7 separate regions of the Homo sapiens genome follow, and regions 1, 2, 3, 5, 6 and 7 are each linked to region 4. The links are contacts of gene promoters, found by promoter capture Hi-C in blood cells and fetal thymus (Javierre and others, 2016). All regions are on one chromosome and are shown on one strand. Each heading gives the region's core, a stretch centred on a gene start or on the middle of the fragment in contact. The rest is flanking DNA. Distances are from core to core; before and after follow the strand shown. Region 1 overlaps DAPP1 (dual adaptor of phosphotyrosine and 3-phosphoinositides 1). Region 2 overlaps DNAJB14 (DnaJ heat shock protein family (Hsp40) member B14). Region 3 overlaps RAP1GDS1 (Rap1 GTPase-GDP dissociation stimulator 1). Region 4 holds the start of ADH5 (alcohol dehydrogenase 5 (class III), chi polypeptide). Region 5 overlaps DAPP1 (dual adaptor of phosphotyrosine and 3-phosphoinositides 1). Region 6 overlaps STPG2 (sperm tail PG-rich repeat containing 2). Region 7 overlaps LAMTOR3 (late endosomal/lysosomal adaptor, MAPK and MTOR activator 3).

What was found. The method cuts DNA at HindIII sites, captures the fragments that hold promoters and counts their contacts. A CHiCAGO score of 5 or more calls a contact.
Region 1: a contact is called between a fragment that was not itself captured here and the fragment with the promoter of ADH5 in region 4, in 3 of 17 cell types (total CD4 T cells, non-activated CD4 T cells and activated CD4 T cells). The highest score is 10.1, in total CD4 T cells.
Region 2: a fragment that was not itself captured here is called in contact with the fragment with the promoter of ADH5 in region 4 in 2 of 17 cell types (naive CD8 T cells and fetal thymus); the score reaches 5.8 in naive CD8 T cells.
Region 3: a contact is called between a fragment that was not itself captured here and the fragment with the promoter of ADH5 in region 4, in 7 of 17 cell types (total B cells, fetal thymus, naive B cells and 4 more). The highest score is 7.1, in total B cells.
Region 5: a contact is called between a fragment that was not itself captured here and the fragment with the promoter of ADH5 in region 4, in 2 of 17 cell types (M0 macrophages and monocytes). The highest score is 6.5, in M0 macrophages.
Region 6: a fragment that was not itself captured here is called in contact with the fragment with the promoter of ADH5 in region 4 in 1 of 17 cell types (activated CD4 T cells); the score reaches 5.3 in activated CD4 T cells.
Region 7: a contact is called between a fragment that was not itself captured here and the fragment with the promoter of ADH5 in region 4, in 12 of 17 cell types (total CD8 T cells, non-activated CD4 T cells, activated CD4 T cells and 9 more). The highest score is 13.5, in total CD8 T cells.

What each region holds. Positions count from the first base shown.
Region 1 is chr4:99,841,975-99,845,402 of GRCh38, forward strand. The region is part of intron 3 of DAPP1 (dual adaptor of phosphotyrosine and 3-phosphoinositides 1); the gene reads left to right. Among named protein-coding and RNA genes, the nearest start is that of DAPP1, 27 kb to the left of the region's middle. The HindIII fragment of the contact is 3,832 bases long and covers 191-3,428 here.
Region 2 is chr4:99,931,682-99,935,368 of GRCh38, forward strand. All of the region lies in intron 1 of DNAJB14 (DnaJ heat shock protein family (Hsp40) member B14), which reads right to left. Among named protein-coding and RNA genes, the nearest start is that of DNAJB14, 13 kb to the right of the region's middle. The HindIII fragment of the contact is 1,966 bases long and covers 376-2,341 here.
Region 3 is chr4:98,289,231-98,293,054 of GRCh38, forward strand. The region is part of intron 1 of RAP1GDS1 (Rap1 GTPase-GDP dissociation stimulator 1); the gene reads left to right. Among named protein-coding and RNA genes, the nearest start is that of RAP1GDS1, 30 kb to the left of the region's middle. The HindIII fragment of the contact is 1,603 bases long and covers 719-2,321 here.
Region 4 is chr4:99,086,805-99,090,202 of GRCh38, forward strand. It overlaps ADH5 (alcohol dehydrogenase 5 (class III), chi polypeptide), which reads right to left and starts at 1,984. Exons shown (of 9, transcript NM_000671.4): 1 at 1,885-1,984. The coding sequence starts at 1,896. LOC100507053 (a long non-coding RNA gene) reads left to right here and starts at 2,053. Exons shown (of 10, transcript NR_037884.1): 1 at 2,053-2,480. RefSeq lists a promoter at 1,929-3,182 and a silencer at 1,967-2,016. The HindIII fragment of the contact is 7,789 bases long and covers 1,712-3,398 here.
Region 5 is chr4:99,858,319-99,861,876 of GRCh38, forward strand. It overlaps DAPP1 (dual adaptor of phosphotyrosine and 3-phosphoinositides 1), which reads left to right. Exons shown (of 9, transcript NM_014395.3): 5 at 3,260-3,307. Among named protein-coding and RNA genes, the nearest start is that of LAMTOR3, 34 kb to the right of the region's middle. The HindIII fragment of the contact is 2,692 bases long and covers 421-3,112 here.
Region 6 is chr4:98,114,296-98,117,921 of GRCh38, forward strand. All of the region lies in intron 3 of STPG2 (sperm tail PG-rich repeat containing 2), which reads right to left. Among named protein-coding and RNA genes, the nearest start is that of STPG2, 27 kb to the right of the region's middle. The HindIII fragment of the contact is 661 bases long and covers 1,245-1,905 here.
Region 7 is chr4:99,888,845-99,892,373 of GRCh38, forward strand. LAMTOR3 (late endosomal/lysosomal adaptor, MAPK and MTOR activator 3) reads right to left here. Exons shown (of 7, transcript NM_021970.4): 3 at 3,156-3,190. Among named protein-coding and RNA genes, the nearest start is that of LAMTOR3, 3.8 kb to the right of the region's middle. The HindIII fragment of the contact is 538 bases long and covers 1,303-1,840 here.

The sequences.
Region 1 (3,428 bases), core at 857-3,356, 760 kb after region 4:
TGGGCCTTCTCCAAGTTAGGGAAAAGATACATATTCTGCCTACTGGCAGATTTCAAAACATTTAAGATCAAAGTGAAGGCAGTGCTTTCTGGTTGAACCTTTCTGGCACTGATCCAATCATCAGGCAAGAGGATCACCTAAGGATGCGCCAAAATAAAGATGTTTTGATATTGCATTTGGGACAATGATAAGCTTCCTTGTAAATACACTGTTCTGAGTAAAGAAGCCTTATGATTGATGCATTAGGGATTGTAAGGATTTGTCATCCAGACTTCTACAGTAGTTTCTCTAAAACTCAAACCTGCTGTATTATTATCTTGACTACAATTGCCATTTTATTTATTACAATATAACTCAGGAACCTAATATTTTTATCCTCTCCACTGCCTCTCCTCTGTTCTATTCATTATCCAATGAAGAATTTGCTGCTGTTTGAATTCCTGCTTTCGGCCCCTCGTGCTGATGGATATGCACTTGACTTGCTGGCTTCCAGCCCTTGAGTTAGAGTCCACCAGCTTTATTCCTCTTATCTGTCCCAGCCAGATGAAGGGAAAGCCATCAGGGCTAGGAACAACAGGCAAAACCCATGACAGATGAGTGTTCAAATCTTGCCCCTCTGGGAGTAATAGGCCTTGGGAAACAAGATAATGTGCTCAAGTCATGATGACTTGTAAGCCCAGAAATTCCTCAAGGTTACGGAGTCAGCATTGCAGACTATAAAGAATGGTGAATGGAAACTGACATGCCACCTTCTAAAAATAGGCCTTTTCTTCTTGTTCATTTAAGCATGGGCTCCTAGTATTGGCTCCCAGTGATCAGAAGATCTTCAGGCTAACGATTTCATGTTCACCTTCAGATGAAGTACAGATATTTCTTTCTTTTTTTTTTTTTTTTTGAGACGGAGTCTCGCTCTGTCGCCCAGGCTGGAGTGCAGTGGCGCGATCTCGGCCCACTGCAAGCTCCGCCTCCCGGGTTCACGCCAGAAGTACAGATATTTCTTATAGCTTATGTTTGATTAACATCACCAGGAAAAGCATTTGTCCACACAATGGACAAGCCCCTCCCAGGGCTCTCAACTTCAGATTACCAGAATGACAAGGACTAGAATTGGATATTTCAGGCCACTGCTCTCAGCCAGACCCCACCCAGGCCCAGCCTCACCCTGCAGGGTCTAGAGGGTAAGTTTATTAAAGAGTGACTTTCTTATAATACATTTATCTACTGGCACAAGTGGTATTACCTTTGAGGGCAACAGAAATGATATCCAAATAGCCAAAACTTTACACTTTTGCCTTGCAGTTATATATAATGCCTTCAGTAGAGTGAAACCCAGAATATTTGATTTTGGGTCGTAAGAACATTTTTGCACTCAAAATAGATAAAAGTGTTGACCTAAGGGGATTAATGCTATTTTAAGATATCTTTTTTTTCTATTCCCTACTCTTTACACTTTTAGGATTTCTGTTTGCTAATCTGAAAAGCAAGGATTTCCTAAGCAACATCTAAGCCTCTTGACAACTTTAAGAGTATTTTATGATAATTTCCCTTTCCCTTGCCATAATCTCTATTTCATCTCTCTAATCTCCATTAAAGTTTCTGTTCACTCTAATTTCTTTTTATCAATACCCATAAACACTCTTAAGATACTTCCAATTCTCAAAACCTAATAATTTCCCAAGTACATGATAGAGATATACAATGTACTCTCTTGCTTTATTTTTCTCAATGGCCCTTTTACCTTCTGACATCTATAATTCACTTATGTTTTTTAAAAAAATACCTTTTTTTCCACACTAGTGTGTGAACTCCATGAAGAAAGGGACTTTTGTCAGCTTTGCTTCCTGCTATGTCCCAGGACCTGAAAAAATAAGTACTGATCATTTCCACAATATGTCATGCTGGATGCCCCATTTCCAATGCCTGCATTGCAGTTTTTTGCATGGCAACATCAAAACTAGCAAACTTGTGACAATTTTAACTTTCAAAGTTTATAAAAACATAATTTGAAATGATATTTTGTGTTGCATGTATGCTCAGTGATGATTAAATTCAGAATTTGCCTTTCATTTGTGATAGTGTTGCAGGACTTTTCCTTAGTTCAGCTAAAGATCGGGTCCCTCTCCATCCCACGGCCACAAAAATTTAGGCTCGCAGACGGTTTGAAGGGTGAGTGAAGCAGGGTTTTATTGGATGAAAAGAAAGAAAAGAGGGAAACAGGGAAGCTAGAGCGCTTCCTGCCCAGCAGTTTGAATTCTATGTTCCTCACAGGAAGAGGAGGGGCCAGGCTCCTCCCCACTGCAAAGGACACGAACTTCCTAAGGCTTCACCTCAGTGGGCAGGCCGGTTGGAGTTTTTCTGTCTCAATAGTAGGATATCAAATAAAACATATTCATGTCTGTGCATGAACTCTAAACTAAACTCAAATAGACTTGAAAATTTGAGAAACTTTTTTATTAGTATAAATATGTTTGGTCCATTATTAATTTTGTCGTAGCCTCTTGTAATTAGCTAAGTTTCATATATATAGTCTTGAAAATGTAGACGGCATTTATCTTTATGCTTAAATGTCTAAATATGATTAGAACAAAAAATTACTTTTACCATTACCTTTTGTTTATGTTTCAATAATTCTTAACATGAAATTGCCATGTATAATTTATTACATTGTATTGTGACTGTAATCACCTAACAGGCATGAAAAAATATAATACAAGTCAAGTTCTATGTTTGTGCTTACCCTTTATAATAATTGGTTCCCAATTTTAAAGATCTCATCTGGTTTTTTGGTAAATGTCAAATCTCCATTTCTCTTTTTGTTTTGATATGGGGATTCCCAATCTTTTGACGACAGCTACCGCTATTATTATTTTGTTTTGTGACACCACCCAGGTGATATTTTTAAATAATGTGGTTAAAATTAATTTTAATTTGAGAATTGGGTGGTTCTTCAGAAAACAACTAGTGACAACTTAGAATTTTTCCAAACTTCCTTGGATGTTTGCCAAAAATACAAAATGTTCTCAGTTTATAGATGAGTTTTATTCGAAAAAGGAAAAAGCAGCTGAGGAAGGGAATTAAGCCAACATTTTTAGAGTGTTTGCTAGGTTCCAGGCATTCACCTACATCAACTTATTTCATCTCAGCCACCCACAATAATGCATACAACGGTCCTATTTTCAGATGAGGAAAGGAAAACTCAGAGGTTTTAAGTCACTTGCCCAAGTTTTCACTGCTGGTAAACATCAGGGCTGAGATTGGAATCTGGGCTAATCTGGTTCTAAAGCATAGATGCTTTCCATGCACCTTGCTATCTTTTGAAACTGGTCCCACAATAACAGTACATTGTTGCCATGGTACAGTGTGGCCTTAAATGGATTTGGAAGAACTCAGAGCTGAGATTGGAATCTGGGCTAACCTGGTCCTGAAGC
Region 2 (3,687 bases), core at 109-2,608, 840 kb after region 4:
ATTATCGCTAGACCATAGAGTGGTCCTTTTCAAATCTCAGAGAATTATTACCATATATATATATATATATACCACAATCTATGAGCACAATACAGTTATATGAGAAATCAGTTACAAAAAATGTAACTAAAAAAATCATAAATGGGTTGGAAAAGAAAAAACAAAATAAAAAAATCTAGACAGCTTGTGTATCAAAGAAATAACTACAATAGAAATTACAAAATACTTAGAACTGAATAGAAATTAAAACACCAAATATCAGAACTTGTGGGTCAACAACTAGCCATCCACATGCAAAAGAATAAATTTGGACTCCATCACACTGGACACAAAAATTAACTCGGAATGGATCATGAATCTAAGTGTAAGAGCTAAAGCTTTAAAACTCTTAGAAGAAAATACAGAAGTAAATCTTCATGATGTTGATTTAGGCAAAATATTCTTAACTACAGAAACAAAAGTAAATGTGATAAAAGGAAAACAGAGAAAATGGGCTTTATCAAAATTTAAAACTTTTGTACTTCAAAGGCTATAATCAACAGAATGGAAAAAAAAATGTTTACAAATAACATACCTGATTTTCAAAAAAAAGTATCCAGAATATATAAAGAATTCTTACAGTTCAGTAATAAAAAGATCAAAAACACCGGTTAAAAAAACGGGTGAAGGATCTGAATAGACAATTTCTCCAAAACAAACAAACAAATGGTCAATAAGCACAAAAAAAAAGTTGCTCAACATCATTAGCTATTAGGGAAATAAAAATCAAAACCACAAAGAGAAGTATCACTTCAAACCCACATCCAAAAGATGAACAATAGCAAATGTTGAGAAGGATGGGGAGAAATTGGTACCCTAATAAGTTTCTAGTGAGAATGTAAAATGATGCTGCTACTTTGAAAAAATCATCTAGTAGTTCTTTAAAAAAGTAAACATAGTTACCATTTGACTCAACAATCCCATTCCTAAGTACATATCCAAGAGAAATGATATACAAAAACTGATTCACAAATGTTCATTGCAACATTATTCACAATGGCAAAAAGATACAAACAACCAAATATCTATCAACTGATGGATAATGATATATCCAGACAATGAAATATTTTCAAAAATAAAAAGAAACAGAGTACTGATATGTGCTACAACATGAATGGACCTTGAAAACATTATGCTAAGTGAAAGACTCCAGTCACAAAAGATGGTATACTATACGGTTCCGTTTATATGAAATGTACAGAACAGGCAAATCTACAGGGACAGAAAGTAAATGAATCATTGCCAAAGCTGGGGGTGCAGGGGAGGGTGGAACTGGGAATAAATGAGGAGTGACTGCTAAAGAGTAATGAGGTGTCTTTTTGAAGTAAGGAAATGTTCTAAAATTGATTTCCATAATTGTTGTGCAGCTCTGTTAAAATACTAAAGAAACACTGAATGGTATAATTGAAATGAGTGAATTGTATGGTATGTGAATTATGTCTCAATAAAGCATGTATATATATATACACACACTCTCAATATTATGTCTCAATAATGTCTCAATAAAGTATGTATATATATACACACACTCAACTAGGTACCAATCTAATCAGTTATTAATGAGAAATATAACATAAACAGTCTTTTTTTTTTTTTTTTTTTTTTTGAGACTGAGCCAGGCTGGAGTGCAGTGGTATAATCTCGGTTCACTGCAACCTCCGTCTCCTGGGTTCAGGCAATTCTGTCTCAGCCTCCTGAGTAACTGGGACTACAGGTACCTGCCCCCGACACCTGGCTAATTTTTTGATTTTTTTTTTAGTAGAGATGGGGTTTCACCATATTGGCCAGGCTGGTCTCAAACTCCTGACTTCAAGTGATCCACCCGCCTTGGCCTCCCAAAGTGCTGGGATTACAGGCGTGAGCCACACGCCTGGCCAATTTTTAAACTATAGTCTGTATTTAGTCTGCAATCGCAATGAACGGAAACCAGCATGGTCTAAGGGAGGTAGTGGTTCACAACATTTAGACATAAAAACTTTTGTGGGAATTCTGGAAAAAAGGCTATGACATCAGCTTAAATTTTAAATCTCTCCGAATTCCCTCATAAAGTCAGAGAAAACCTCATGCACAAAATCCCAAAATATAAGGTGGGGAAAAACCACCAACTGCCACAAGATCTGTGTGGGCAGTGGAGTATAATACAGGGGCATTTGCCAGCCCACAGAACATAAAAAAAAATTAAAAATAAAAATAACCAACAGGGACTCTCTATATAGCACAACAGGCAAAACTGGGAAAAGTGTGTAAAAAGGAATGAGTTTTGCCTACTACAATAGTACACAAGTGCACGGGTCCACAATAAAGCTTTAAAGGCATGGAAGACTCTAGTCACTACATGCCCTCAAAAATAATCAATCAAAGCTCTCTTCCACAACAAAGCCACACCAAGAAGAAACTCCTGGGAACAGGACCCAAACTGAAGAGGACAGGGAAAACAAAAAAAATGAAAAGAGAAACTCCAGATAAAAGTAGGGAAGGATAAAGGAATGAGAAGATCTCATTTAGCAAGGTGACATTTTTAAACATTACACAAAAACAGAAGGATCTCTACGTATTTACCAGCACATAAAAATGAGTAAAAGAAAATGACAGAAGTCAAATCTGATACAAAATTATAAGAAAAAAAGGATGAGTATGAATTAAACCTCTGAAGACGATAAATACACACCATAAACACTTGCTAACAAAACAGATGAACACTTTAATACTTCAAAACAAGCTGAAAAGACTAAAAAATAATGCATGATATAAAAGAACAATATATATCAAAATTACAACATCAGAAATTACTGGCCAGATGCAGTGGATCACATCTGTAATCCCAGCACTTTGGGAGGCTGAGGCGGGTAGATCACCTGAGGTCAGGAGTTCAAGACTAGCCTGGTCAACATGGTGAAATCCTGTCTCTACAAAAATACAAAAATTAGCCGGGCGTGATGACCAGTGCCTGTAATCCCAGCTACCCGGGAGGCTGAGGTGGGAGAATTGCTTGAACCTGGAGGTGGAGGTTGCAATGAGCTGAGATTGAGCCACTGCACTCCAGCCTGGGTGACAGAGCAAGACTGTCTCAAAAAAAAAAAAAAAAAAAAAAAAAAAAAAGAAAAGAAAAAATTATCTCTCAAAAACTTATGTGATAAAACTCAATAAAAAATAAGACATTTTAAAAAATCAATTAAAAAAAGACTAAACTAGAAGAAACTAGACTCATAAATACAACAGGATAATGCTTAAAAGAGAAAGAAAATATACCAGAAGGAAATTTAAAACATTTTTTTAAAAAGTCAAAAAGACAAAAAAATTTCAAGAGAAAACAGCAAATATTAACAGTAAAGATCCAACATATGTACAATAGGAGTACTGAAGAAAAACAAAAAAATAGAACAAATAAACTTTTCTGACATAAAAACAAAAAATCTGAAACTATTAAATGAAAGGGCAAATCACAGACCTAATACTGACCAAGAATAACTAACACCAAGACATATTCTAATAAAATTAAATATCTAGGCAAAAAGAGCAAATGACTTATAAAGGAGAGGAAATTAGACTGTCATCAGACTTTGTTCATCAGTAGTACTTGCATAAAACAATGGAGTAACAGATACACATGGAAAGAAAACGTACAGCAAAGACTTTCTATCCACCAAA
Region 3 (3,824 bases), core at 270-2,769, 800 kb before region 4:
TCATGTTTATCAAGGTATAAACAAAATGTGGGAGCCTAGAAAAGGAAGGTTCCTCTGACTGCAGGAATACAGAAAGCTTCATGCAAGACTTGGCATATTAGTTGACTTCGCCAAGTAAGTAGCCATGCTAGATGTGGAAAATGCACAGAAAGGAATTTTAGAAAAGAATTTAATTCTCACAATTGTGAAAATGAAAGTGTGCTTGGGAAAAAGCCAATAATGTGGTGGGACTGACACACATGATGTTGTGTGAGAAAGTAATGGGAGATGGCATAATGTGAGTTGTAAAAGTTTCTGATCGGTTTAGGACCAGCTCTGGTAAACAAAAAAAAAAAAAAAAAAAAAGAAAGAAAAGTAGGAAACTGAAAATACAACATAGTAAAACTGAAAATATTATAATTTTTAAACACAGTCCTTTCCACTTGACATGCTAACAGAAACTACTATTCCTACTTCATTAGAGAAGCTTTTAAAAATAGCTTCATTCTGTCAGATACTAAACCCTTTAGATAAGTAAAACATAATATTCAAGAGAGATTGCTATTATTTCCAGCTGCTAAGCCAGGTGCCCCAAATTGACTTAATGCCATTCATTTTGAGATAAACTTGAAATTCTTCCATTCATGCATTGGCTGTATTCTAGGTACTTGAAAACCACATTAGCACAGAAATATTTTTTTTTTTGGATTTGATGTGGATAGTGATGCTTTCAAAGTAAAGCTTTGTTACTAGATAGTTATGTGAAAATAATAGATACAGAAAAAAATTGAGTGACATTTGAAGTGAGGTAAAAATGTCTTGAACTTTTACAAGCTCAGTTAGCAGTTCTTGTGTACTTGTCTCCTGTCGGTTTTATCATCAGCAATGGTATAATTGTCCAAAGATAACAAACACATATCTATCTATATACCCATGTATCTACTTACTGGCATATAGTAAAGTGATAGAATTGATTAACATTTAAAAGTATGAAGTTTTAGATCCAATAACCTTGAAAATAAAGCTACCATTTCTGAATAATATTGTGAGGAAGATAAACTGAAAAATGCCACCACAAATAACATAAAGAATTTCATGACTTCCTAGTTTAACATGACACTGTCTTGAGATTTGTTCTTTGGGACAGTCCTTTCTTCACAGTCAAGTGTATTCTTTGTTGTTGGTGATGATCTTAAGTACTTTTATGGTCAAATTATTTAAATATTAAAACAGCATCACTTTCCTCATTAGTTTTTCTTAGATTGATGTTAAGAAAGGAACTGATAGCTAAAAATTTAGGTCTTATGAAAACTCTTCCATTGCAGCAAGTACTTACAGACCAGTAAATAATTTGTTTCTGGTTTATAGAAGAGAGGTTGGAGCATAAAGAGCCTCTGGTGCCTAAGATAAAAGAAAAAAAAGGCTTGGCAAAGTTTGAAGGTTTTAGTGGGAAAGTATAGCTGTTTGTCTTTAACAGAGACTTTTGAGAAATGCGAGGAATGATAGTTAGCTGTTCACGGTTACCAGAAGTTGCATCAGGTTTTATCCAAATGTATCAAGGCCTAAAATGTGGTAATTCTTTATATTGATAGGGACATAAAGCAAGTGGTCTGTCCAGCTGAATAAAAGAAGGGAGGACAGAAGGAAAGAGCATACCATCCTAATATTCTGAAGGGCATGCATATATTATTCAGGAAGAGAAGAGGCTCTGTGCACAACTGGGGTCACACTAATATTAAAGGGGCAGATAGAGAAGGAAGATCTATTGAAGAAGACCAAAAACAAGTGTTTAGACTGATGTTTCTAAGTTAAGAGGTGTTTCAGAAATGGAAAAACTGTCTATTGCTACAGAGATATCAAACAAGAGGATTGAGAAAAATTCATTGGCTTTGTCAAGATATCATTTAAAACCTTTGACAGAGTAATTTTGATAGGCTTTTAGAGGACTTGGTTAGATCAGGTTTTAAGGAGCGATTGAGTGGGTAAGAAGTGGGAGACTCAGAATTTTAATGACCAAGTCAACTTTGCTTTAACCCTTTGAAGATGTCACATATTTCACAAGACGAACTAGACCATATGTTGATATATAGGAAAGAAATTGTTTTAAGAAAAAATTTTATTTTATTTGTTAATACTTCTCCATTTCTATCTCTACTTACTGCCTCATTACCAGCCAGAGGCTGACAAATTTTCATTAGAACAATTTCAGTGCTTTTAAGGAAATGTAAAATACAGCTCTCTGGAATTACACAAAAAGTAATTTGGATGCTAAGGATTTACTACTGAAATTTACTGTCATGGTTTGAAGGAGTACAAAAATAATATCCTCTGTTTCTTACCCAAGCTTAGAACCACTGGAGATATAAGCATATGAGTCGTCTGCTAGAATTTAAAATATCTGCTTTAAAATTAATAAAGTCTAGAGTTAAGGCCTCTATTTGTAGAGTCACAATGGGATTACTAGTAATTTACTGCTGAATTATACATATTTACTCATTTTGTCACTGTACACCTGGACAGCCACAGGTGTAGAACAGAAAATTCTTGTTGTTTCTAAAATAACAGGAATGCAGAAGGGGTTGAGCCATACATGTCCAGTAGTCCTCAGCCTTAATCAGATAAATCAGATAAATCTTTCCTCTTCTGGAAAATGGAAGCTTTCATATTGTTTCGGCTTAGCAGGGCAACTAACCTTTAAGGAACTGCCAGGTGTCCAGTTTTAGTATATCAGTGAATATCCGCAATTATCTGAAAAGGCTGTTAAAATACTCACGTGTTTTCCAACTACGTATATATTGAGACTAAATTTTCTTCATCTATTCAAACCAAAACAGCATATTAACCAAGATTGAATACAGAAGAAGATACGAGAGTCCAGTCATCTTCTGTTGAACCACATTATGGAGATTTTTTTTTTTTCCTTTTTTTTTTTTAAGAGATAGGGTCTTGCTCTGCCACCCAGGTTAGAGTGCAGTGGAGCAATCCTAGCTCCCTGTAGACTCAAACTCCTCAGGCTTAAGTGATCCTCCCACTGCAGCCTCCTGAGTAGCTGGGAATACAGGCACATGCCACCATATGCAGTTAATTTTTTTATTTTTATTTTTCTTAGAGAAGAGGACTCACTTTGTTGCCCGGGCCGGTATCAAACTCCTAGCCTCAAGTGATCCTTCCACCTTGGCCTCCCAAAGTGATGGGATTACAGGCATGAGCCACCGGGCCTGGATGAAATTTCTAAAAATGTAAAACAATGCCTTATGTAAGTGATAGGTTGATGGGTGCAGCAAACCACCATGGCACATGTTTATGTAACAAAACTGTATGTTCTGCAGATGTAAGCCAGAACTTAAAGTATAATAAAAGAAAAAAAAAAAACAATGCTATTCTTCTTGCTAAATTTTTTTGTTAGGAAATAATTTTTTTCATTAAAATGCTAATTATGTTAATGTGCAGTAGGTTTATAATTGTTACATTTAAGTAAATTACTAAATAATTTTAAAAAGTCTCAGTTTTGATTTTGTAGTATGTTAAATGTCTATAGCAATAATATAAACAAAAGCTCTTTGGGATTCTCAATAACTTTTAATAGTGTAAAGAGGTTTTGAGAATCTGTGATCTAGAGGAATTCACATATAATTTAGGAAGAAAGCATAGCTTTATAATCCAAAATATGCATGTTAGGGCTTAAAGCAGTACTTTGATGTGAAGTATTTTTGAAATGACAGTGTAAGTTTTGTAGTTATCACACTTTGTATTATTTGGAATCATATTATTTTGAAATTTTTCTAAACCTTCATTTTTTATGTCTTTAATGTACAACAGAGGAAGTGAACAATGAAATAAAATGT
Region 4 (3,398 bases), core at 734-3,233:
TGGCAGTCGCCTGTAGTCACAGCTACCGGGGAGGCTGAGGCAGGAGAACGGCGTGAACCCAGGAGGCGGAGCTTGTAGTGAGCCGAGATCGCGCCACTGCACTCCAGCCTGGGTGACAGAGCAAGACTGCGTCTCAAAAAAAAAAAAAAAAAAAAAAAAAGAATATGAAGTCCCTAACACAATCCTTGGCACAGCATAGCTTTGCAAAATAAGTTAGTAGTTATTGGTAGCAACAGAACAAACGGTTGAGGGAAAGGAGAGGTGAACTACATAGAGATATAAAAAATGGCCTCTGTAGGCCGGGTGCAGGGGCTCACGCCTGTAATCCCAGCACTTTGGGAGGCCGAGATGGGCGGATCACCTGAGGTCAGGAGTTGGAGACCAGCCTGGCCACTATGGCGAAACCCCGTCTCTACTAAAAATACAAAAATACCGAGCATGGTGACGGGCGCCGGTAATCCCAGCTACTCGGGAGGCTGAGACAGGAGAATCGCTTGAACCCGGGAGGCAAAGGTTGCAGTGACCCAAGATCGCGCTATCGCACTCCAGCCTGGGAAACAAAGAGCGAAACTCCGTCTGAACTGGCGGGGGAGGGGGGGGGGAGGGAAATGGCCTCTGTAAATTGGTGAGGTTGGAAATGTGGAAATGATCGTTTTTAAAATTAAATTGCAGATATTAAATCTCATAGTACAAAGAATCAGACACTGCATTAGAACCTTTTTCATTTCAATGTGCCATAAATTTCAACTCCACAAGTCAGATTCAGAATACTAACAATTAAGTTATGCAACATAGGAATCCAAAGAAACAAGAATACTAAATTTGATGGCCTGCTCCCCTTTAAAAAATGTCTTAATGGAGCCTAACCTTTTCCTTTTACTGACAATTCTAAGCAAAACAAAGCCCCACTCTAAATCCGCGGGAAATGGCCCTACTTCAACATTTGAACTATAGTAACAATTATAATCTTTCACCTTCTCTGAATAAAGACACTCAGTAATAAGGAAAAGCAACTACCAGTTTAAGTCTGAAAGACTGTTTAGAGTTTATTTCTTTCAAACTCCAATATGTTTAAGGCCATTTGTCTTACTAGAAAATGTCCAAAATTGCAAAACATTAAAATAATCAGCAACTTTAGACTGAGTATGTTATTCGTAATTTCTGCCTTTCTTTACTGTCTAATTTGTATTTTATGAATTTGTCATAGAGGAGCAGACCTGGGTCGGAATCCCAGCTCGCCATCGTTGGTGTGACCAAGCACAACCAACCTCAAACCTCAGTTTTTGGTAAGATGGGGATAACACCTCGCAGAGGTGTTTGTTACGTGAGGACTAGAGGGAATATAAATCTCTTGGTATTTAAGTGCTCGAAAATGTTTCTGAAAGGGACGTAGGGGTCTTTCCAAAATACACTCCTTGGAGGCACAATAATTAAGGCGTAGGCTCAATTATGCAACACAAGCAACCTAGGAGTTAGAAGCACGGGATCTGGCTGCAGCTCTGCCAAGTATGCAAGCTGCAAGAATGACCCAGAGCGAGTTACTTAATTTCGTGTAAGAAGCAATGCGTGGCCGCTCCTAAGCCATTTCCACTGGGATACCGACCTGACCAGCCCCTGCCCCCCACTCTCCGGCTCTCCCACCCCCCCACCCCGTTCCGACTGTCCCAGAAGCAGCAAAGAAAGCTGCTTCCCAACTGAAGAGCCGAGACAAAGCTTCCTTCTCTTTCTGCCCCTCTGAGCCGCTCGCTGGGGGCCCAGTTTCAGAACCAAGAGCCAGATCCCGTCTTGGGCGCCGAGCCTCGCGCGCCCCCGAGGATAGCAGCCTAGTCCCATGCCATGCACTCCCTCCCTTGGACTCAGGGCCCTCCGCTCAACGGGCCCTACCTCGTTCGCCATGTTCACGGATTCTGGTCGGCGCGGGGGGCTGACATCCGGGGTGGGCCGCGCAGCGACGGAGGCATGGGCGTGGCGAGCGCCTAGCGAGGGGGGCGGGGCGTGGGGGGGGCTTGCAATGGCTCCAACCGGAAGGGCGGTGCTCGAGCTGTGGTGCGTGCCGCTAAGTTGTGCGTTCCAGGGTGCACTCGCCGGCGAGGCTGCACGGCGCCGGTTTCATTGCTAAAATCCGACGGACTTGTTGCAGAACTCGTTTTTTTTGTCGGGAAAGGGCTTCCCCGTGTAACTTTACAGCAGTTATCGTAGATAAGACTTGCAAATTACAGATGTGGACGGTGAGGGAACGGGAATTTCACTGAAAGCGCCTGAGAACCAGTAAGAGACCTGCAACAGCTTTGTGCTCCACTGGCGAATGCTTCCTCCCCTAATACACATTATGTGTGCTTGGAGACACAAGGAGTAAGATACAGCCCCTCAAGGGACTCGTCATAGGGAGAGGACACAGCTTTGGGAATAAAGGGGCCACAAAGGAGGAGAGAGGAGTTTGCTGAAACTTCCCAAGCTCCCATTCCAGCAGTTCCTGAAGGGTAGGTAGGATTTTGGGGAGACAGTAGAACGTGGGCAGAGAACTTTGGAAGGAGGAGATGAGGAGAACAAAAAGTCTCCTGATCCTGGACAGTTTTTTGTGTTAAGAGTGGGCCAGAGTGTAGAGAGAGAGAATGTAGTATTTGTCGGTTTACTCTTTCTTTGTTTGTTTGAGACGGAGTCTCGCACTGTCGCCCAGGCTGGAGTGCAGTGGCGCGATCTCGGGTCACTGCAACCTCCGCCTCCTAGGTTCAAGTGATTCTCGTGCCTCAGCCTCCTGAGTAGTTGGGATCACAGGCACACGCCACCACGCTGGCTCAATTTTGTATTTTTAGTAGAGATTGGGAGTGGGGGCAGGGGGTTGGTCTCACCATGTATGCCAGTCTGGTCTTGAACTCCTAACCTCAAGTGATTCACCCACCTCAGCCTCCCAAAGTGCTGGGATTACGGGCATGAGCCACCGCACCTGGCCTGCCAGTTTACTCTTAAACTCTGTTGTAAACGCTGAATTTTGTTAAAATAGCTCTGTCAGACACACTGCTCTTTTCTGTCTTTCAGTCTTTTTCTTGGCTCTTTTCCGGGTACATATGGTAAGATTGTCCAAAGTCTTTCCGTCCTTTCACTCCACTCTCTCACTCACACTTTGGCTTTTAACGTCTATTTATGGAAAGATGACTACCAGATTATTATCTCCAATCAGGATGGCTCCCCTAAACTCCAGACTTGGACATGTAACTGCCTACTGGATTTCTGTCTCCATTAGGATATCTCACAATCGAATGCAACTCCTAAAACTCCTATTAATATTTTCTCCTTATAGGGACTCTTTCCTCTGTGTGTTGACACTCTCCACATACTTACCCTAGCCAGAAACATGAGAGTCACAACTTCTCCCTCTCCCTCGGTCCCTGCATTCAGTT
Region 5 (3,558 bases), core at 517-3,016, 770 kb after region 4:
GTAAATAGTTTCCCAACTTTGGTTTATATGATATTGAATCATGATTAGATACAGGTTTTTTCATGTTGGCTACAAATACCACAAAAGTGATGCTTTGTTTGTGCTTCTCACTGTGTCTTCTCAGATGGAACACAATTGCAATCTGTCTCATAATGGTGTGTTTGATTACTTAAGTGGTGTCTGCCAGGTTTCTTCACTCTAAAGTCACCATATTCCCTTTGTTATTAAAAAATGTTTGGGGTGAGGTTATTTGAGACTATAAGAATATTCTGTTACTTATTAAATTTTTACTTGCCAATTTTAGCATTTACTGATGTGTCTTGGCTGTTTTAATCATTACTATGATTGTTACCAAACGATGACTCTCTGATTTTCTTATTCCTTTTTACATTCATTGGTTGTCATTCTACTGTAAGGAAAAGCTTTTTATTCTTCAAAATTTTCAATCATTTTTATATCAAATGGTTATAATCATGACTATCATTATTTATTTTGATCCTTCAAAATTTCCCTGATTTGGCCAGTCGGGGAAAGAGCCCTTTCAAGTGGTGTCTGTGTTCATATGACCTCAAAAAAAATTTTTTTTTTTTGGAGACAGTGTGTCACTCCGTCACTCTGTCTCCCAAGCTGGAGTGCAGTGGTGTGATCACGGCTCATGAAGCCTCGACCTCCTGGGTTCAGGTGACTCTCCCTCCTCAGCCTCCTGAGTAGCAGGGACTACAGGTGTGTACCACCACTCCTGGCTAATATTTGTATTTTCATTTTTTTATTTTTTTTTGTAGAGTCAAGGTTTCACCATTTTAACCAGGCTGGTATCGAACTCCTGGGTGCAAGCAATGCTCATGCTTCAGCCTCCCAAAGTGCTGGGATTATAGTTGTGAGCCTCCGTGCCTGGCCTGGCCTCAAAATTCTTTTAAGAACTTTCTTACTTTCTGAATAGCAAGATGATCCAGACTTATCTTGTTCTTTCTTTGTACCCAGCTCTAGAACCAGCTATTTCTCCAAGAAACTCTGCTCTTTTTCCACAGAATAGTACTCTAGAAATCGACATCTAGGTACTATGTGCTTATTGTTATCAGGATGTCACTCTCCCAGCCCACTCAGTGAGCAGAGCTGGGAAAATATGTATGTATATACATATGTACACATATATACTTTTACATCTGTATTTATCTGTCGATTCATTCATCGATCCATGAGTTCACAACAATGCTTCCAATACCACAAAGTTCATTCTAGTGTTTTCCCTTCTCCCACAGTGAGAAAATATGGATCTTATCATCCTCAGTACACTTATGTGGTGATCAATTGAATATAAGCAATCTCCCATTGCTGTTTCTACTACTCAACCCTTACCCCGACACTCCAACCACCCAGTCATGCTTCAATGCTCAGTTCCAGGCCACTGCTGCTCCCACCCTCACTACAGATGTCCACCTAGCCCAACTTGGCTCTGAAACTGTGCAGTAGCTGCCACCTCCACCCCTTCAGGCAGAAGCCCTCCACACCCTGCCAGGCTTCAATGCCTCGCACACAGCTGCTGCTGCCACTGTCACTGCCAGTGTCCACACAGAGGCTCCCTGTGCCCTACTTGGGCTCCACCACCCTGTACTAAGGTGCTTGAAAGCCCTCCACACACACATCAATGCCTGCCTTGCTTCACCTGAACTGTGTTGGCTACTGACTTCATTTAAGGCTGGCAGGCAAGTAGGTAGTAGGATGGCAGGAAGGACAGTCCTTTGTTTTTGAACATTTAGATGGTACCCCAATGGGGGCTCTTATAAACAGCTTTTCTGTTACAGTTCATAGATTTTTAAAGATAAATGTGCTCTATAATTATTTACTTTCTTACATCTGGAGACCCTGAATAAAATTAATAGTCTCATTGCTTTCCCATGCAGCCTTTGGCTTACCTATCAAAACCTTAGAAGAATACTACACTTATAGTACATTGTTTGGGTGGAGGTAAGATGGGATTATTCCCTAGCTTGATTTTAGTAAATAATTCTATCAGGATCTTTTATACAACAATTTACTCCTAGTTATTTTGCCTCTACAGATTTTAACCTGCAACAGCCCAAAATAATTACTTTTTGCCATTCCTATAACACCTGAATTCAACTGAGTCAATTCAATTTATTTAATGTTAAAATAAATCACACCAATTATGAGATATCAAATTCACCAATATTGATTAATATTATTTAAGTGAACATTTGGTTAGTTTATCCTTACTTTTATATCATAAGATTTTAAAAGAAGTGTTTGCTTATTTCCTGCTTTAACTCTTTTTATTGTGGTAGAGATGGTTGTTCCTCTTTTTATTTGGTTGGGAAAATTCACCTTGGAAAAAAATATTCTGGAAATTACCATAGAAAGAACCTTGGTGTCAACCAAATCACTTCCCAATTTTTGTTAATTTTGTTTCTTACTAAGACATATGATGACATCACATTTGAACAAAATATTCTACCACGAATTGAATTTCTTGTGGAATTTATGAAATGATAAATTTCTTGATGTTAAGCTACTTGTCTTATGCAAATTTCTGTTCACACAATTCTCCACCCTTATATTTCGTAGGTGTTAGCTAAGTGTGTGCTATTATTTTTACGTTTGAATTAATGACAACATGAGTTAAAAGAACTGGCTCATTCTTATTTCAGATTCATTTTGGGTAAATCAGGTGTAAATAAATCTACGCTCCTGACAGTCTGTTTTTTGGAACATGGATCTCAAGAGAGTGTGGGGGTGGGGAGGAGGATTATGTGATAAAATAAATAGTAAAAATGCTATTTCTAAGGTTCCCTCTTAAAAATTTACAAAGTATATTAGCATAATACAGACTCTGGGAAGCCCTGAAGTAAAAACATCCTTTTAGTTTTCTTAATCCAGTCTCCCAAACGTATTGACAGTAGATGTGTGCGTGTTTATGTGCTAATAACCCTGTAACAATCCAAACAGCTGGATTTCACATGACACACCTTGACAAACACAGACTTTTATAAGTGAAATGATGTCGTTTATTGTTTGCAAATTGCTAACTGGAGTTAGGAGCTACAGAATGATGCCAGTAGATCCAGTCTGAAAACAATCTCTCACAACACATGGAAGCTTTTCAAGTGCCTAGGTGAAAAATGATAGACAGTAATTTAAAGATCAAAAGCAAACATTCTTCATTTAAAAATAGGACATGAAAGGAAGGACAAACGTCCTGTTGTGACAGTTCTGGTCTTCACTCAGTGCTTTTCTTTTTCAGCTGGGCACCAAAGAAGGTTACCTCACCAAACAGGGAGGCCTGGTCAAGGTAAGGAAGTGTGGTTTTGCTCATGCCAGCCACAGAAAAAAGAGAACACGTCATGTAGACTCAATTCTCATCTTGATAGTTTTTCTTGGAAGCATAATTGCCTGCTCATTTTAACCCATTTGTAATATTCACCTGACTCAAGAGTTCATTTTTATGGCTCATTAGTCAAAATTCTGGAAAATGACTTGACTGTTCTTTGACAAAGCCCTGCATAGGTGTAGCCTGCAGTTAAAAGTCAATAAAACATAGTC
Region 6 (3,626 bases), core at 325-2,824, 970 kb before region 4:
AGAACATCATAATTGTGCATATTTTTTTCTACTATATTATGACCATAACAGACAGTGAAGTACAAAATGTGAAACTACATTCTAATATAATATAGTCATGCTGGATATTTTAGACATTGTATATATTTCACACAAGAACATATCTAATATGTTGATTTACTATAGCCTATACATTTGTCAAAAAATCAGTATTTTAAAATACAGCATTTTGATGTCATCTTTTACATCACATTTTTATAGCCTAAAATCATGTTAAGGTTTTGTATTAACTCTTTTAATGCAAGGATTCAAGACCTTGAGCAGGATTCTATTGAAGAAGCTTTCTTTAAGTGAATTTACATTATTGAGATTTTATGATTCAATTGTTTCACAATTCTAATAGTAATCCAGTAGGAGGAAAGATTATGTATGTGTACATGTGCACACACACACAATTTAAGACCCCACAATAATATCCATTTTTTTTTTTTTGTGTGTGTGTGTGTGTGTGTGTGTGTCTACAATAATATCCATTTCATTTAAACCACATGAATTGACAAGTACTTAACTCATTAACCTCTGCGGTACTCAGGTAGATGTTGAATCAGAAATTTAAAAGGCTTTTAAAAATACAGACAGAAAACAAAGGATAAATTGATGCACTCTTATCTCTAAATTACAGTTTCTTTTATGTCAAGAAGTGTTGGCAATACCAACTTCAAGGTCACTGTCAATTTTGAAAATCATTAGCAAATAAAATATGACTTAATTGAAGCAAACTCAGCATGGAACTGCATTATTTTAAGTAAATGCTATATTATAATTTGAAGAAGAATTACTAACTGCCACTCTCACTGACAATTAAATAAATGAAGATGGGGCTATGCAACTTTCCCCCATGTCTTTCCATAATTAAATATGGAAATAGAATTTGTGAAGAATTAAAAGGCCCAAAGTGCAATAATTCAAACACTAATGAACTGTTTTCCAGTGTGGCAGCACACAGGTAGTTCCCAGCATGTTATCATTAGCAAATATGTCAGTATCATCATTCCAATCACAAACTTTGCTTGTGAAATACACCTCTGAAAAATAGATTTCTAATAGTTACCTGGGCTCTTCTAAAAGAAGAAAGAAGCTAAACTTTATCATTCAAAATGTTATATAAAATAACTTTTTTGTAGAATTTCTCTTCACAAATTAAATTTAGCTAAAGTTTAACATTTGTCACTTAGAGTCTTACACAACTCTTAATTCTGTATTTAAGCTTTATTAGACAGCTTCAGCAGATGTGATTCACCAGTTAAGAAAGAATCACAATAATTACCCATCTATTGGATTATTTTCTTAATTTTCTATCAATATGCACCTCTGGAAACTAAACCCACATATAGTATTAAATATTATTTCAAAAAGCAAGCAAAGAGTTACCCAGAATTATCGAAAATTCAGATAAGATTTGAATTAACATTATTACAGTATCAATTTGGCAGTAGTTTGTGAAGAACCTGTGTTTTTCTGCAGGAGAAACAGAAGAAAATAAAGCCTTCAGCTACTGAGCTTTGCCACGCTATCTCTAGTTCTCTCAAATACAAGATGAGGATTTCAAAAAATATCACAATTCCGTTTGTATTAAACTTTGCTGAATCTTCTTGAATATTATGAACTATGTCTTTAACTGATACAGAAAACTACGTTTTTATATGTTTTTAAATTACATCTAGATTTTTATTCCAATAAATAAATAATAAGTTGTATTGATTCAATACTTATTAAATTAGGCCATCAAATAAATTAGGTCATCAAATAAATGTCTTCTTCTTCTTCCTTATTTCTATAAATAATAATTTAGCCAGGAAGTAATCAAGTTTTATATGTCTAAGTAATGCTTATTCATGTGGGGAAAGGATTTTATACATGCAGGGAAGCTTGGAGGCATCATTGTGGCCTTCTAATAGATGACACATTATTCTGAAACAAAAAAAAAATAGCTTAAAGCAAGAATTACATTTTGAGATGTAAGTTATGAGTGATTAGGGAATTATTAAGCTAAAGCCAAGAATCTATGACTAATTGTGAAGAATACTTATTCCAATATGTTAGACCATAGTTATTTTTCTCAGGATATTTTAGGTAAGGAAACTGAGCACAAAGATTAAGTAACTTGGCCAAGGACTAATAACTATTAAGTGGTAGAGTCAGGACACATAACCAGGAAGTCTGGCTCCATTACACTTCTTTGCATAACTTGTCCGTCACCTTGGGGAGAATATCCTAATATCAAATCATAAGACCATTTCACTGGAGTTTTTACAGAATTGAACCTATTGTTCACATAAGAATATCTTACTCAAATATTTAAGATACTTAAATATCTTAATGAAGATTAATTGTCACATTGTTATTAATAGGATGATGGGACAGTCAAGGCCTAGAAGACCAGGTATGTCATAGAGAGAGAGAATGAAATATTCTTGAGACAAAAACTCCCATGGCCAGAAAGAAATGGGAATTCTTATGGTTAGAAAAGGAAACATGTAACTTATATTATCCTTACTTTTCATGTTACCAGAATTAATCTGGTTCTTCAAAAGTTTTATAGCATGAAACAATCCATTAGTCTTAAAATATCTGCCTACTACTGTATTTAAACACAAAATGTATTATTTCTAGTTTGTTCCATAATCAATAGGAATTCTTCTAAAAACTTAAAAATCAAAAATTAAATAATACTGGCTTATATATTTACCTTTATCATTGTTCTTTAATTATTTATGTGAATTTGAGTTATTGTCTGATAACATTTCATTTCAGCCTGAAGACTCCATTTGGTATTTCTTTTAGGGGGTGTGCCAGCAACAAATTCTGTCAGCTTCCATTTATCTGAAAATGTCTTAATTTCTCCTTTATTTTCAAGGAATAGCTTTGCTGATTCTGGAATTCTTGATTGGCAGTCTGTTTTTTCAACACTTTGAATAAGTCATCCCCCTCCCTCTGACCTCATGATTTCTATTAACCTTTTGGAGGATTCCTTCTATATGATATGTCACTTTTTTCTTGCTGCCCTCAAGATTTTCTTTTTGTCTTTGGCTTTCAACAGCTTGACTGTGATGTGTCTAGGTGTGCATCTCTTTGCATTAATCTTACTTAGAGTTTGTTGAGCTTCTTCTTTCTGTAATGTTTTTTCATCAAATTTGGGATGTTTTCAGCCATGATTTCTTCAAATATTCTCTTTTCTCCTTCCTCTTTCTCCTCCGCTTCTGGGATTCCCATTATGTGTATGTTGGTATACTCGACAGTGTCCCCTAGATCTCTGAGGCTCTGAATACTCTTCTTCATCCTATTTTCTTTCTGTTCATCAGACTGCATAATATCAATTGACATGTCTTCAAGTTAACTGATTCTTTCTTCAGCCAATTCAAATTTTCTTTTGGGCTCCTCTAGAAAGTTTTTCATTTCCATTATTGTAATTTTCAAATCCAGATTTCTACTCGGTTTGTTTTTATAATTTCTATCTCTTTATTGATGCTCTCTATTGGGTAAGGCACTATTCTTATACTTCCATTTAGTTCTTCAGACATAGTTTGCTTTATTTCTTTGAACATATTTAAAATAGCTAATTTAAAAATTTTATCTAAGAAGTCTAA
Region 7 (3,529 bases), core at 322-2,821, 800 kb after region 4:
TTGGCATGATTTCCTAATCATTCAATCCTAAACTTATTTATAGATTAAAATATATCTCTAAGATTAATACATAACATAGGCCGGGCACAGTGGCTGACGCCTGTAATCCCAGCAATTTGGGAGGCCAAGGTGGGCAGATCACCTGAGGTCAGGAGTTTGAGACCAGCCTGGCCAACATGATGAAACCCCGTCTCAGCCAAAAACACAAAAATTAGCTGGGTGTGGTGGTGCTTGTCTGTAATCCCAGCTACTTGGGAGACTGAGGCATAAGAATCGATTGAACCTGGGTTGCAGTGAGCCAAGATTGCGCCACTGCACTCCCAGCCTGGGTGACAGAACGAGAGTCTGTCTCAACAACAACAACAAAAAGATTAATACATAAAATAAATATATTCTTCTAAGTTAAAAACTAGGTTATATAAAACATATACTACAGATATTTGTACATAAGCCAATTATTTTGTGCAGTTACCAAAAGCAACATCATTTGAAACAGTAAAGCATTACAAATCCAACTGTCCATCAAGAAGGACAAGGTAAGTTATGATATACACCTACAAAGGAATACTCTGGAATACTCTGCAGCCATGAGAAAGAGGAAGTTCTCTATGTACCAGGAAAGATTACTCTCAAAGTTACATTCTTAAGTGAAAAAATACACAGTTTAGAACAGTGTATAGAAGAAGCAATAAATTATGTACCAAAATATGCAGGCATATGTGTATGTTGTGTGTATAAATACGTGTATATACATGTCTGCTCATAGGTACATAAAATATCTCTGTAGGTAATGGTGGGTGCCTCTTTGAGGGGAAACTGTGCATGTGGCTGGAGAGGAAGGATGGGCAGCTTCTCACTCTATGTTCTTCAGTTAAGTCTTGAATCTGAACTCTGTGAATGTACTACTTACCCCCAAAATAAATTAAAAAGCAGGTAAAAAGAGGACCACAAAAATGTTTAGAAAAATTAGTGCCACCACAGGTAGCTTCTTTTTTTAAATTTCCATGGAAATTACTTTAAATACAACTAATGCTCCAAAGAAAATAAAAGGACTTTCTTTTTGATGGACTTCACAGAGAAATGAATCAAGAAAGTAGAAAAATTACTTACACTCTTAAGTATATAATTTTAGAAATCAGGTCACAAATATAAAAGCTGTTTTCAATTCTACATACAATGCGCAAAGAGTAATATAAATAGAATTTACTAATAATTAAAAATAACTGGCTCATTAAGAGATACTACACTTTTAGAAGAAATGAATTAAATTTTGTGAAATATTCTGAAGAAATCTAAACCTTAAGCTTACTAAAACAACCATTTTTTTCTAAAAACAAATGTTGCATTACTAATCAAAGACATCGGATTTAGTTTTATACACATAATTATGAAATATTTGGTTGTTTTAAAACATACAAAGTGGGATTATTAAAGCCTGAGACTGCTTTGGGTCACAACCAGATTTTAAATTGCAAATACAAGAACGATATTTTGCAGAGAATTCAAAAAACGCACAAAAACACACATTCCATTAGTATCCGTAGCTGGCTGACTTTGTTACTGAGAGGCACTGAGGTACAACAGTTAAAAGCATGAATCCATGGCTCTGAAGCAGGATGCCTGCATCCAAACCCATACATCTAGCAACAAATCAAAGCGTATATTCTACTATTCTTCATAAATGTTCAAAACATTATTATTTCTTCATTATTACTGTTCTGGGATGCAATAAGCCTATTTTCAATAAATGATATAATGAGTTGAACTGGCTTTTTTTCATTATTAAAAAAAAAACTGACAGTACTAATACCTTTCCTGCCATTATGAAAGATTTTCATAAAGCTTTTAACAAATATCCTTTAACTGAATTTATTTCTTGGATAAGCACAACAACCTGATATTTCCCCTTTTGTTAAAAGATAAGAGACATCTAAATTCAAAGAAGAAGCAAGCATTTACTTTCCAACTATTTTTGATCAACATTAGAACTACTCAGTAATATAATAAATACTTTTGGTATTATTCTCTAATTCCTTTACACAGACAGCTTCATCATATCCAGTGTCACACGCTATTATGATTTTGAGAGCACACTTAATAGTTAAAATGAGATCCCCATTGTCTGAAACATTTTTATTGCTTATAATCACAGATGATGTAATTAGAATCAATTATTGCTTTATTAGATCTCCAGGTGACTAATGAGTATCTTTCTGGTCGGTTTATAACTTAAGAACATTGAATGCAATTTTGCTGTTTCTTCAATAAGAGATGCTAACACTCAAAAGAGGACTGTAAATCACTAAGACTTCTAAGTGAATTAACTATGTACTATTAACTATTTCATCATATCACCAGCGTAGTGGGGTATCTCTCCGTCCCAATTTGAGCGCCCTTTCATTACGCTAAGGTAACTACAGAAAAACACAGAAAGCCCTCATTTTGCATAGTTCCAATATGCACATTTTAGTTACTATGGTTAAGTAATACCACTCCCTGCAGAAGAGCACAGGTCAAATTTTAGTTAGCATGGCATAATACCTCAATAACTACGTAAAGTATAAACTTTTCTAACTCTTTAGTCCACAAATCACTACATAAATAATTATGTAATTAACAGATGCACACTGTCATCAGTAACCAGCCACATCATTTCTTTCAAAGTATGTTGATGGTTGGTCACTGTGCATCTGTTATGCAGCTCATGCAGAGATAGCAAAGCATGTAGTTTTGTACCTCCTTGTCTCCCAATGATAAAGTATGTGACATTTAGAAAAAGAGATAATAAAAAGAGGAAACTGGCCAACAAAGACGAAATACAGCAAAGAAATGAAAAGTAATAATGCTGAAATTTCAAATAGAAATGCTGAATTTCAAATAGAAAGTAAAGAATTATAGAAGAAACAGATGACCAAGGGAATGCTGACACTATCGCTCTAGATACACAGAGAACTCAGTGAAGGCAAACTTATTGACATAAATGAGGAAAGCGGTTGTGACGAAAATTTTCCAGAGGACGTGAGGCTGGCAAAAAATATTCATATTAAAGGAAATCTCAGAGATACTTCACAACATGGAAAATACAGACAAAATGCTTCATAAAATTAACATATGGCATATAGAATTTATTCAATAACAAATTAAAAATTTCTTACCTTGGTAACTTTTTATACAAGAATCGCTTTAGGTCCTGAAAGAGAGCATTAAAAAATAATGTTGTAATAATAGGCCTTCCACTGTTTTCTAGATCCTGTCCTATCCAAATTTTAAGGAACTTCAGTTATCATTCATAACCTTTCTTGCTGTGTTTTATCTTTCTCTGTCTGATTTGGATGTTTACTAGTCACGCAACTTGGAGTAAGTTAACCAACCTTTTTTCGCTAAGCTTATTTCATTATTTGTTGAATAGGGCTAATATAGAACCTACATCATAAAAGTGTTGTTAAAAGTTTATTGAGAAGATGCATGGATTAGCATACCTAGAAATGGGAAACACATTTTAGCCATAAAATTACATCATAATTTTCAT